2 separate regions of the Homo sapiens genome follow, and region 1 is linked to region 2. Evidence: promoter capture Hi-C in human tissues and cell types (Jung and others, 2019). All regions are on one chromosome and are shown on one strand. The core of a region is centred on a gene start or on the middle of the fragment in contact, and the rest is flanking DNA. Distances in the headings are between cores, read along the strand shown.

The links. Contacts are between HindIII fragments. The study calls those that stand out against the background at their distance.
Region 1: a fragment that was not itself captured here is called in contact with the fragment with the promoter of ASIC3 in region 2 in 1 of the 25 tissues and cell types used here (thymus).

Annotation. Positions count from the first base shown.
Region 1 is chr7:149,630,820-149,635,424 of GRCh38, forward strand. No RefSeq gene overlaps it. Among named protein-coding and RNA genes, the nearest start is that of TRC-GCA9-3, 2.6 kb to the right of the region's middle. The HindIII fragment of the contact is 5,408 bases long and covers 1-4,299 here.
Region 2 is chr7:151,046,049-151,050,553 of GRCh38, forward strand. It overlaps ASIC3 (acid sensing ion channel subunit 3), which reads left to right and starts at 2,483. Exons shown (of 11, transcript NM_004769.4): 1 at 2,483-3,371; 2 at 4,058-4,208; 3 at 4,433-4,505. The coding sequence starts at 2,838. It overlaps ABCB8 (ATP binding cassette subfamily B member 8), which reads left to right. Exons shown (of 16, transcript NM_007188.5): 16 at 1-1,734. RefSeq lists an enhancer at 3,995-4,505. The HindIII fragment of the contact is 19,092 bases long and covers 1-4,505 here.

The DNA.
Region 1 (4,605 bases), core at 346-2,845, 1.4 Mb before region 2:
TGGCTTCCCAGAAGAAAAACTGCATTTCCCAGACCCCCTTGGAGCTGTGAGGCCATAGGCATAAGGCTGGTCAATGAGATGCAGGTGAAAGTGATGGGTGTTCTTATATGGAGAGGCTTGTCTTTCCTCCTTCCTACTGGCTGGGAGGTCGATGAGATGCTAATGTGGGTGATGGCATGCTGGAATGAAAGCCAAGCCAGCCAGACAGCCACAAAGAAGAAATCGGGTTCTTGACCCTATGGAAAGCCATGCCTGGACCACCTAGCTGTGGACTTTTATGTGGGAGAAAAGGAAGCTTCTGGTTTGTTTGCTTGTTTTTGTTTTGCTTCCATCCTTTGTTATTTTGGGTGTTCAGCATTCATAGCCAAACCTGATCATCACTTAAACTATTCCCTTTCAAGATCTTAGAATCAGAAAAGTCCTTTTATGACACGTTTTCTGATGTTTACATGTTCTTACTGTTACCAAAAATGTTTCATTATCCTCATTTTGACCTTAATCTTGTCTACCTCTCTCTGTTCCCATGACCGCAGGGCCACCTTGGGGCTCAGCTATCTGCCTGCCCATTATTGATCCCATGTTTGGCCTCTCAGTCATGATTCCAGCTCCTTTGAGAGCTTGGTCTGTGGTCTATCTACCTCTCTCATGAGCCCTTCTGCTTCCGCGGATACACACGCCTTTGGCCTTTCCCACCTTTGCTCTGGGGAAGCCAGTCTTTGATGGAGTAAATTGTAGAGCCAGGCAAATGGTCCCACTGCAAATCTACACCAGTTTGACCTCAACCAGTGCCTCTCTCTAATGAGCAATGATTCTATTCCTTTCTAATTCACTTCTTCTCCATTTCCCACAGTGCCTGATTCACACTTTGCCCTTCTTCCCAAGTAATGATTCCCACCCTACCTCCTTTATTCTCTTTGGAAGACTTTGTTTTCTATCTGACTGAGAAGACCAAGGCCATGGAGGCCCCCCAGCATCCTCTGCTCTGCATCTTCACCTTCTCCTCATCCCCTCCAGGCTAAGAGGAAAAGCCTGCCTGCTCCTCTCTAGAGCACATCCTGTGTTCTTTATCCACCCTTTGGCTTTCCCTGGGATCTCCTTCCATTAATATATCCTCTCTTTTTTATTGACACATTTGAGCATATTCATATATGTACTGGCCATTCATGATATACAGGGAACCCTACAGGCACATCTTTGCAGCAATTATGGTGAACTGTGTGTGCTTTGATAGACATACAGGAGCCATGGAGCATGTGGCAGGGGTCCCACCCATCAGGAGGGTCAGGAGGGCTTCCCAGGAGAACACCCACCCAAGTGCTCCACTTCACTGAGACTGTGCTTGTCACAGTCCTTGGTGACCATGTGTCATGGGTGATTCTCATCTTTAATTCAAGCCCTCAGTAGCATTTTTTTTTCAATCGACATTGGGGCTGTCACTCTTTTTCTGTTGTTTTCTTTGTACTTCTCTGCCACTTTTCCTCAATCTCTTTTGCTGGTTTCTCCTTAACATCCCCATTTTTAAACATTCGAGGGCCCAGGTCTTAGTTCCTAGACCACTTTTCTTTTCACTCCCACTTCCTCAGTGCTCTCATTCCATCCTGCGGCTTTAATGGGATGATGACCCTCAAATTTATATCTTTAGCCAACACCTCCCCTTCGAACTCCAGCTTCATTTTTGACATCTCCATTAGACCATTTAACAGATGGATTCAATTTAATACATCACAGATTGAACTCCTGACTTCCACCACCCCCTCAAATTTCATTTCTGCTGCAATGAAAATGGCCATCTCAGAGAATGGCCCCCCCATCCCGCCGGGTGCTCAGGACAGAAAACCTTGGCATTATCCTTGACTTTTCCCTTTCTCTCACACCCTGCTCTCAAATCATCAGCAAATCCTGTTCACACTGCTTCAAAATATATCCAAAATCTGACCACTTCTCATTGCCTCCACCATCAGACAAAGCTGAAATCATCTCTCATCCAGGTTATGGTGACAACTTCCTGAACTTGTGTCCCGGCTTCCATACATGTCCTCTAGTGCCCTCAGGCCAGCCAGAGGACGAAATCAGCTTATGTTATTCCTCTGCAAGAAATCCTCCAATCACTCCCATCTAATCCAGAGTGGAAGCCCATGTCCGTACACAACCTATCCCAATGGTGACTGAAACAGACATGGGCTCTTGAAACTAGAGGAATAGATCAAGATGTACAAATGTTCACAGAAGTTAAAAATGGAAAATATGAGAAATACTAGATGGTAAGATGCAGGGATATTATAAGACTATTACTGGGATATCAAAGCGATTGCAGGAGGTAAGGACACTTTCCTTGAGGAAGTGATGTTTCATTCATGGCGTACTGGTAAGGTGAAATATTTGTGGTAGTTATTATGCATAAGTAGTGTGTATACCATTGGGGCTGATGTGAAAAATTCTCTCTCTTGGGTAGTGTGGCCATCCTGCTGGCTTTTTCCAGGGCACCTACTGTCCATTTTAGCCATAGAAGCTGGTGCTGGAGTTCACCTCCTTTGCCCAGCTAAGGCTTCTGCACAGTGAGATGAGGCAGGTAGTGACTCCCGCCCCAGGAAACTCTCACTGATCCCTGTGGTCTCCTTGGGCTGCCTCTGTCTGTGCCTTGTGTGTGTTTCACTCTCCCAGCCCCTTTTAGGACCCCCTGAGAGTCCACATTGGGACACCTGGAGCCAGTCTTCACCACATCATGCCCACCAGAGGAGACAAGTTCTCTTTTATGAAGATGGAATTTGCCATCACAAAAGAGGCTTGCCCATCTGCTCTCTTCTTCCTTGCTGAGGGCAATATTGCATAGTTTCCGGAAGGTGGGGCAGGGAAATTTGAGAGGAAAATTTGCCCAACTGACTTCTTTTCATCTATACTTTTACTTCCTTGGGCTCTTAGGTCTCTTACTACCTCTGGTTTTGTGAAGAGCCACCCCCTGGCAAGGTCAGTCATGCCTGGAGTTCCCATGCCATGTAAAATTGTCTGTATGCTGGTACAAGGACTCCAACTATTGCTAACCTTCTAGTCTCCTTACAGTTAGCACATTGGTCTGAGTAATTTATGTAATTTCCCTATTGGAAGCTTAGGGCAGTTTCCGAGGGGAATTCTAATGTAGGAGGAAGAGGGGACTCTGGGGTAGGGTGGCCACAGTGTGCAGTTGATTCCTTGTTGATGTTCGCTCCAGCATGAGCTGCACACCAGCTGGCTACTTCCACAGGCACACTCAATGCAGGAAGCCATCTCCTAAGGACAGTCACTGACTCTTTTTAGGGCCACCACAGTGAGATCCAGACTGAGAAGACAGGAGCTCGCCTGGTACTTGGGGTCGTAGGACCATTTCAGGCAGAGAGGGCTTCAGATTCCTCCTTCTTCATGCAGGGGCCATTGGATTCGTACAAGAGCTGCATTAGTTGCTCTCTTTCTTGCTCTTCAGGAGGGCTTCCTAGCAACTGCCCTGCTGCCCCCACCCCAACTCAGCCATCTCTCTCATACAGGGAAGACGACTTGTCTATTTCTCTTGCTGTATATGTGGTTTTATCACTGAGCAGGGGACTTGTCCCTTCCTTGATCGTCTTCCTCGAGGTATGACTAGAAAGACCTTTCTCTGCCTTTAATAATGCTGACACCATCATTTTGACCTGATTGTAAGCCCCAGCTGACTCGGGAGGGCAGCATTGGCATTTTTATTTTTACTGATTCCTGCACAGTTTATACACCTCCTTGGGCATGGTACTACCTGACTATACTAGGTCCTCACCATCCGAGAGGCCTCTGGGGAGGCAGTAGGTCAGGGTGGAGAAGGCACGTGTGGAAGGGGGTGCTGTGGGACTCAACTCAAGTGTGGCTGAGGGACAGGGGGTCAGGGCCTGGGTGCTGGGCACAGGACACAGGCAGCAGGGATGCCCCGGCCCATTGTGGGTGCCTTTTGCCCTCAGACTCACCACCCCCATGGTGATGTTCCAGCCGGGTGGACAGTGGACAACTGCTGTGTGAAAAAAGAGTGACAGCATCAGAGGGGAGGGGCTGAACACTGGGAGGGATGAGAGCTGCCTGGAAGGAACGGGGCAGAGGAACTGGATGAGAGAAAGCCTGGGAGGATCTGAAGAAGGAGGAGGAATTAGGACAATGCCAGCTGCAGGAGGCAGAGAAGACTTCCTGGGGAATATTTTATCAATTTCTCTCTTTTATTTTTAACCACCCAGAAGGCTCAGTACCTGGAAGGCTGGAAACATGGACATTGAGTTATCACATGTAAATCGGAAAAGAGAAGATTCCCCCACCCGCTCCCTGGTTTCTTCACCTGCTCCCAGGGGGTTACCATTAACTATTGGTCTATTATCATTCTTTTTTTATGGCCACACAGTATTCTATGGTATATATGTGCCATGGTTTTGTAATACTGAGTATTATTATTTAAGTAACTTTCTTTTACAAAAGCAATTTGCTTATCACTTGGAAAATTATCATGAACAGTATTGTATGTCAAATACAAGTCCCAGACACAGGCACTGGGCCTCCTTGCAGTGCATGGGAAGGTGGTGTCACCCAGTTAGAGTTCTGTCCCCAGTCTAGCACACCTCACAT
Region 2 (4,505 bases), core at 1,233-3,732:
GGGCCACAATGGCCAGTTCCCACGAGAAGCGCCAGCCTGCCTGGCTGTCTTCCACCGGCCCTGCCCTGTGTGCCTGGCGTCTTTCACCCACTGAGATTGTGAACCAGCCTCCATCTACACCAAGAACACCCAGCACTGAAGGAGATGGGAGGGGCTGATGCCCACCTGGAGCTCTCTGCTTCCTGCCCACAGTGCTGACGAGTACAGAGCTAAATGGAGCAGCTACTGCAGAATCCAGTACAGAATCGGTCCAGGAGGGTGCGGCTGTGGACAGGCCAGCATCCCCAGCAGGTTCTGGGAGGCGCACCTTGAAAGGGGAAGGCAGACATCCTGAGTGATGGGCGCCTGTGGCCCTGAGACTGTGGATGAGGGGGCTAGGCTCCAGCTGGCTTCTGAGGGGCCTGGAAAGGCACACAAGTAGGTCCTTGGCTGAACTGGTGCCCCAGCAGGACCTCGTGTCCCTGCACTGCTGCAGATGCATCAGCCCTCCCCATGTTGGTGCCGCTGTCACTTCCTACTGGGATCCTTCCCCTATCCAGCCACATCCAGGCTGTGGGACTACACGGTGCCCTGTTCCCCTGGGCAGGAGAAGAGGTGGTACCTGCAATGCACCTTCACAGCCAGGCAAGCATTCTGGATTTACCCTGTGTAAAGAAGGGTGGTACCCTCTTTCAGGGGTGTGATACAGTGCATTGATGGAGCAGCTGGTGCTGCTGGGAGGCCAGCCTGGAAGAGGCAGCAGTGGCTCAAGTTTGCGTGCAGGAGCCAGAGTGGGACCCACGGGCTCTTGTGGGTGTGGTTTAGAACTAGATGGTGCTTTGGGGACAAGCCATCCAAAAACCCCAGGCCCACATCCACCCTGATTTGATATCCCACTTCCTGACAGATCAGAGGCTGTGTCTTTAAGCAGTGGAGGTCCAGGAGCAGAGCCTGGGGCTGGTTCACAGCTAAACCCCTCCTTAGGGCAGCCCAGAGTAGGGCCTCAGCTGGCAAGTCCACAAGCCCTGCTGGGGCCCTGCTTGTTGGCCTGACCCCTCCCTCACCAGGCAGCCAGCCAAGGTGGTTCCTGCTTCACCCACTCAGTCATCAGCCTCAGGCTGCCCAAAATGCCTCTGACACCAGATTTATATCTTCTGGGCGGCTTCTTTAAATCCAGCCCTTCACCCGCCCCCTAGAGAAGCAGTGAAACCCCTTGGCTAGTCCAGCTGGAAGAGCTAGACCGCAGGAGCCGCGCCGTCTTCCTAACCTCGCCTCGGCCTTCGCTCCACAGTGGAGAGTGGGAGCCTAGCTGTGCTTGATGCTGAATGCCTGTTTTGAGAGTGTGAGTGGGATCATCTACAGTAAATACTTGCAAAGCATGGCACTGTGGCTCTGGGGAGCTGGTACGCCTGTGCTGTAACCATGGTACTCAGTCCTTCCAAAGTGTTTATTAATCAAGCACCTGTCATGTGCCATTGAGCCCACGATGGGGAATGAGGACAGTCCCTGCCCCCATGAAGCTTGTGTCCTGTTGGGAGGACAGACAGGTGGCCCAGCAGTTGCAGCATGGTGTGTGCACACGTTTGGCTGGTGGAACCATGTTTCTACCACTCATGGTCAAAAAAAGCCCACCAAAGTCCTGGGAGTTCACATCTGTGTGATGATACGGCAACATTGTTTGTAATGGAAAGACTGGACACCCCCAGTGCCCATCAGTGGGGGAGTCATTAAATAAACTATGGTATGTGCACATAATGGGTGGTATGCAGCCCTTTGGAAAAATGTAGGTTTTCCAGGTCCTGGATATAGCAGCGTAAGATGGGAAATCACAGAATACCCATGTTGTGCCTGAGATGGCAGGTGGGGTACCCGTGGTACCCGGGAGGGTGGCAGGTGGGGCACCCATGTTCTACCTGGGGTGGCAGGTGAGCCCATAACCATTGTAGAGGCCAACATCCTCAGAGGCCTGAGTGTGGGGAGGTAGGCTTTGACTCCCTAGGGAGAGAGGGACACTTAGGAAACAGACGGGCCCTGGAAGTGGGACATGAAGAGTGCCCTGGCCATCCAGTGTAGGCTGAGATGCTAGGGGCACAGAAAGAAGAGATCTGCTGATGCCAGCCTTCCAACCATTTCCCAGCTTGGCCAAGAGCCAGCTCTGGTATTCGTGAAGGAACAGATCCTGGGTGAAGCTAGAGGGAAGGCCGCAGAGGCAAAAGGAGAGAGGAGCTAGGCCAGGGGTCAGCGACTGACCCTCGCGGCCAGTGTACAGGGGTTGCAACTGGGAGCCTAGGGGGCCCCAAGGCATCTCCAGGCCCAATCTACCTCTGGGCTTTTCTCAAGCTCTCCCTAGGATTACTGCGGTTTCCTCCTGGCGCCTCTCGTCTTGGACAGCCATGCCCCCCTCCATGCTGCACTAATGGCTCAGCCTGGGGCCCTAGGGACCTCTCCTACCCCCCAGACTGCTCTGTCGGCCCCCTTTCCCCCCTACTGCTGAAACCCAATCCTCTGCAGCAGCGCCGGCTCAGCACCGCCGGCTCAGCACCGCTCCGCAGCCCCTGCCTGCCACGGTCAGCTACGTCCCACCTGGTCTGCTGCGGAGTCCCCAGCCCAGTGCCTAGCCCAGTGGAGCCACCGCCTGTTCCTCGGGAAGGAACAGTGGGACCTGACCGGCCAGATCACCTCCTCCAATCCTGCCAGGCTAGTGCCTCCCTGCCTTCCAACCTTGGCTGTCTCCCACCCTCTCTTCTCCTCTCCTTGCCTGGCCTCCTGAATCCTATCTTAGCCTCCTTAGCCCCCTGACTGACTCTCTCTCGCTTCTTCCAAGCCTCTGTAGCTGGTTCCGCTCCTGGGTTCTGGCCATGAAGCCCACCTCAGGCCCAGAGGAGGCCCGGCGGCCAGCCTCGGACATCCGCGTGTTCGCCAGCAACTGCTCGATGCACGGGCTGGGCCACGTCTTCGGGCCAGGCAGCCTGAGCCTGCGCCGGGGGATGTGGGCAGCGGCCGTGGTCCTGTCAGTGGCCACCTTCCTCTACCAGGTGGCTGAGAGGGTGCGCTACTACAGGGAGTTCCACCACCAGACTGCCCTGGATGAGCGAGAAAGCCACCGGCTCATCTTCCCGGCTGTCACCCTGTGCAACATCAACCCACTGCGCCGCTCGCGCCTAACGCCCAACGACCTGCACTGGGCTGGGTCTGCGCTGCTGGGCCTGGATCCCGCAGAGCACGCCGCCTTCCTGCGCGCCCTGGGCCGGCCCCCTGCACCGCCCGGCTTCATGCCCAGTCCCACCTTTGACATGGCGCAACTCTATGCCCGTGCTGGGCACTCCCTGGATGACATGCTGCTGGACTGTCGCTTCCGTGGCCAACCTTGTGGGCCTGAGAACTTCACCACGGTGAGCTGACCTCCCTACCTATCCTGCCAGGGACCCAGAGAGCCGACCAGTCCCTGCCCAGCACCCACAATTCCCTAGCCAGCACAGGCTCCCCCAAAGCCAGGGGACCTCTTCCTTCCTACCAGCCATGGACTCCCCACCCCCCAGTGCCACTCCGTGCAGCCCAGGAAGCTGTCCTCCTTGGGGCTTTCTCTGTCTCCCAGCCCGAGGGGAGCATGTGAGGCCACACTGACCCCGGCTGGCCCTAGGCCTGAGGTCTGGCCCAGGGAGGCCCTGCTCCTGGGGCTGGGGGTCCTCCATGGTGGGACCATTCTGGGGCAGAAGACCCCTATCTCTGCCAGGAGGTGGGGGGGGCTTGCTTTCCCTCTGCCTTTTCAACATACTGCCAGCCCCGGAGGACAGCCACAGGGGCCCATTTCCTTTTCCTGCAGTTCCCAGAGAAACACAGAAAAACCTGTAGGCTGTGCCCTGGGCTTTGGTGGGGATTGGCGGGGTGGAGGAGCTGAGTTGATGGGCTCCCAAGAGCGTCCTGCAACATGTGCCCACTGGAGCGTGGGGCTGGGGGCATTGAGATGCGGGCTTCAGTATTCAAAGAAGAGACGCAAACATACCATGAGGTGGGGAGAGGTCCCATGACCATGTGCCTGCCTGGGGGAGATGGCCATCACCCTGTCTGCCCGCCCCAGATCTTCACCCGGATGGGAAAGTGCTACACATTTAACTCTGGCGCTGATGGGGCAGAGCTGCTCACCACTACTAGGGGTGGCATGGGCAATGGGCTGGACATCATGCTGGACGTGCAGCAGGAGGAATATCTACCTGTGTGGAGGGACAATGGTAGGGAGCACACAAATGAGGCTGGGGGAGGGCACGGATGGAGTGCAAAAGGCTAGGGGAAGGAGAGGAGGAGAGGAGGTGTCAGGGTGTTCCCCCAGAACCTGTGAAAGGGGCTGGGCTGGCTCATCCCAGTCCTGGGGAGAGGGGCTGCAGTGAGAGGTCTTGTCTGGTTGGGCAGGAGACCTGACCACACAGGTCAGGCCTCACAGGTCCCTCCCCGACAGAGGAGACCCCGTTTGAGGTGGGGATCCGAGTGCAGATCCACAGCCAGGAGGAGCCGCCCATCATCGATCAGCT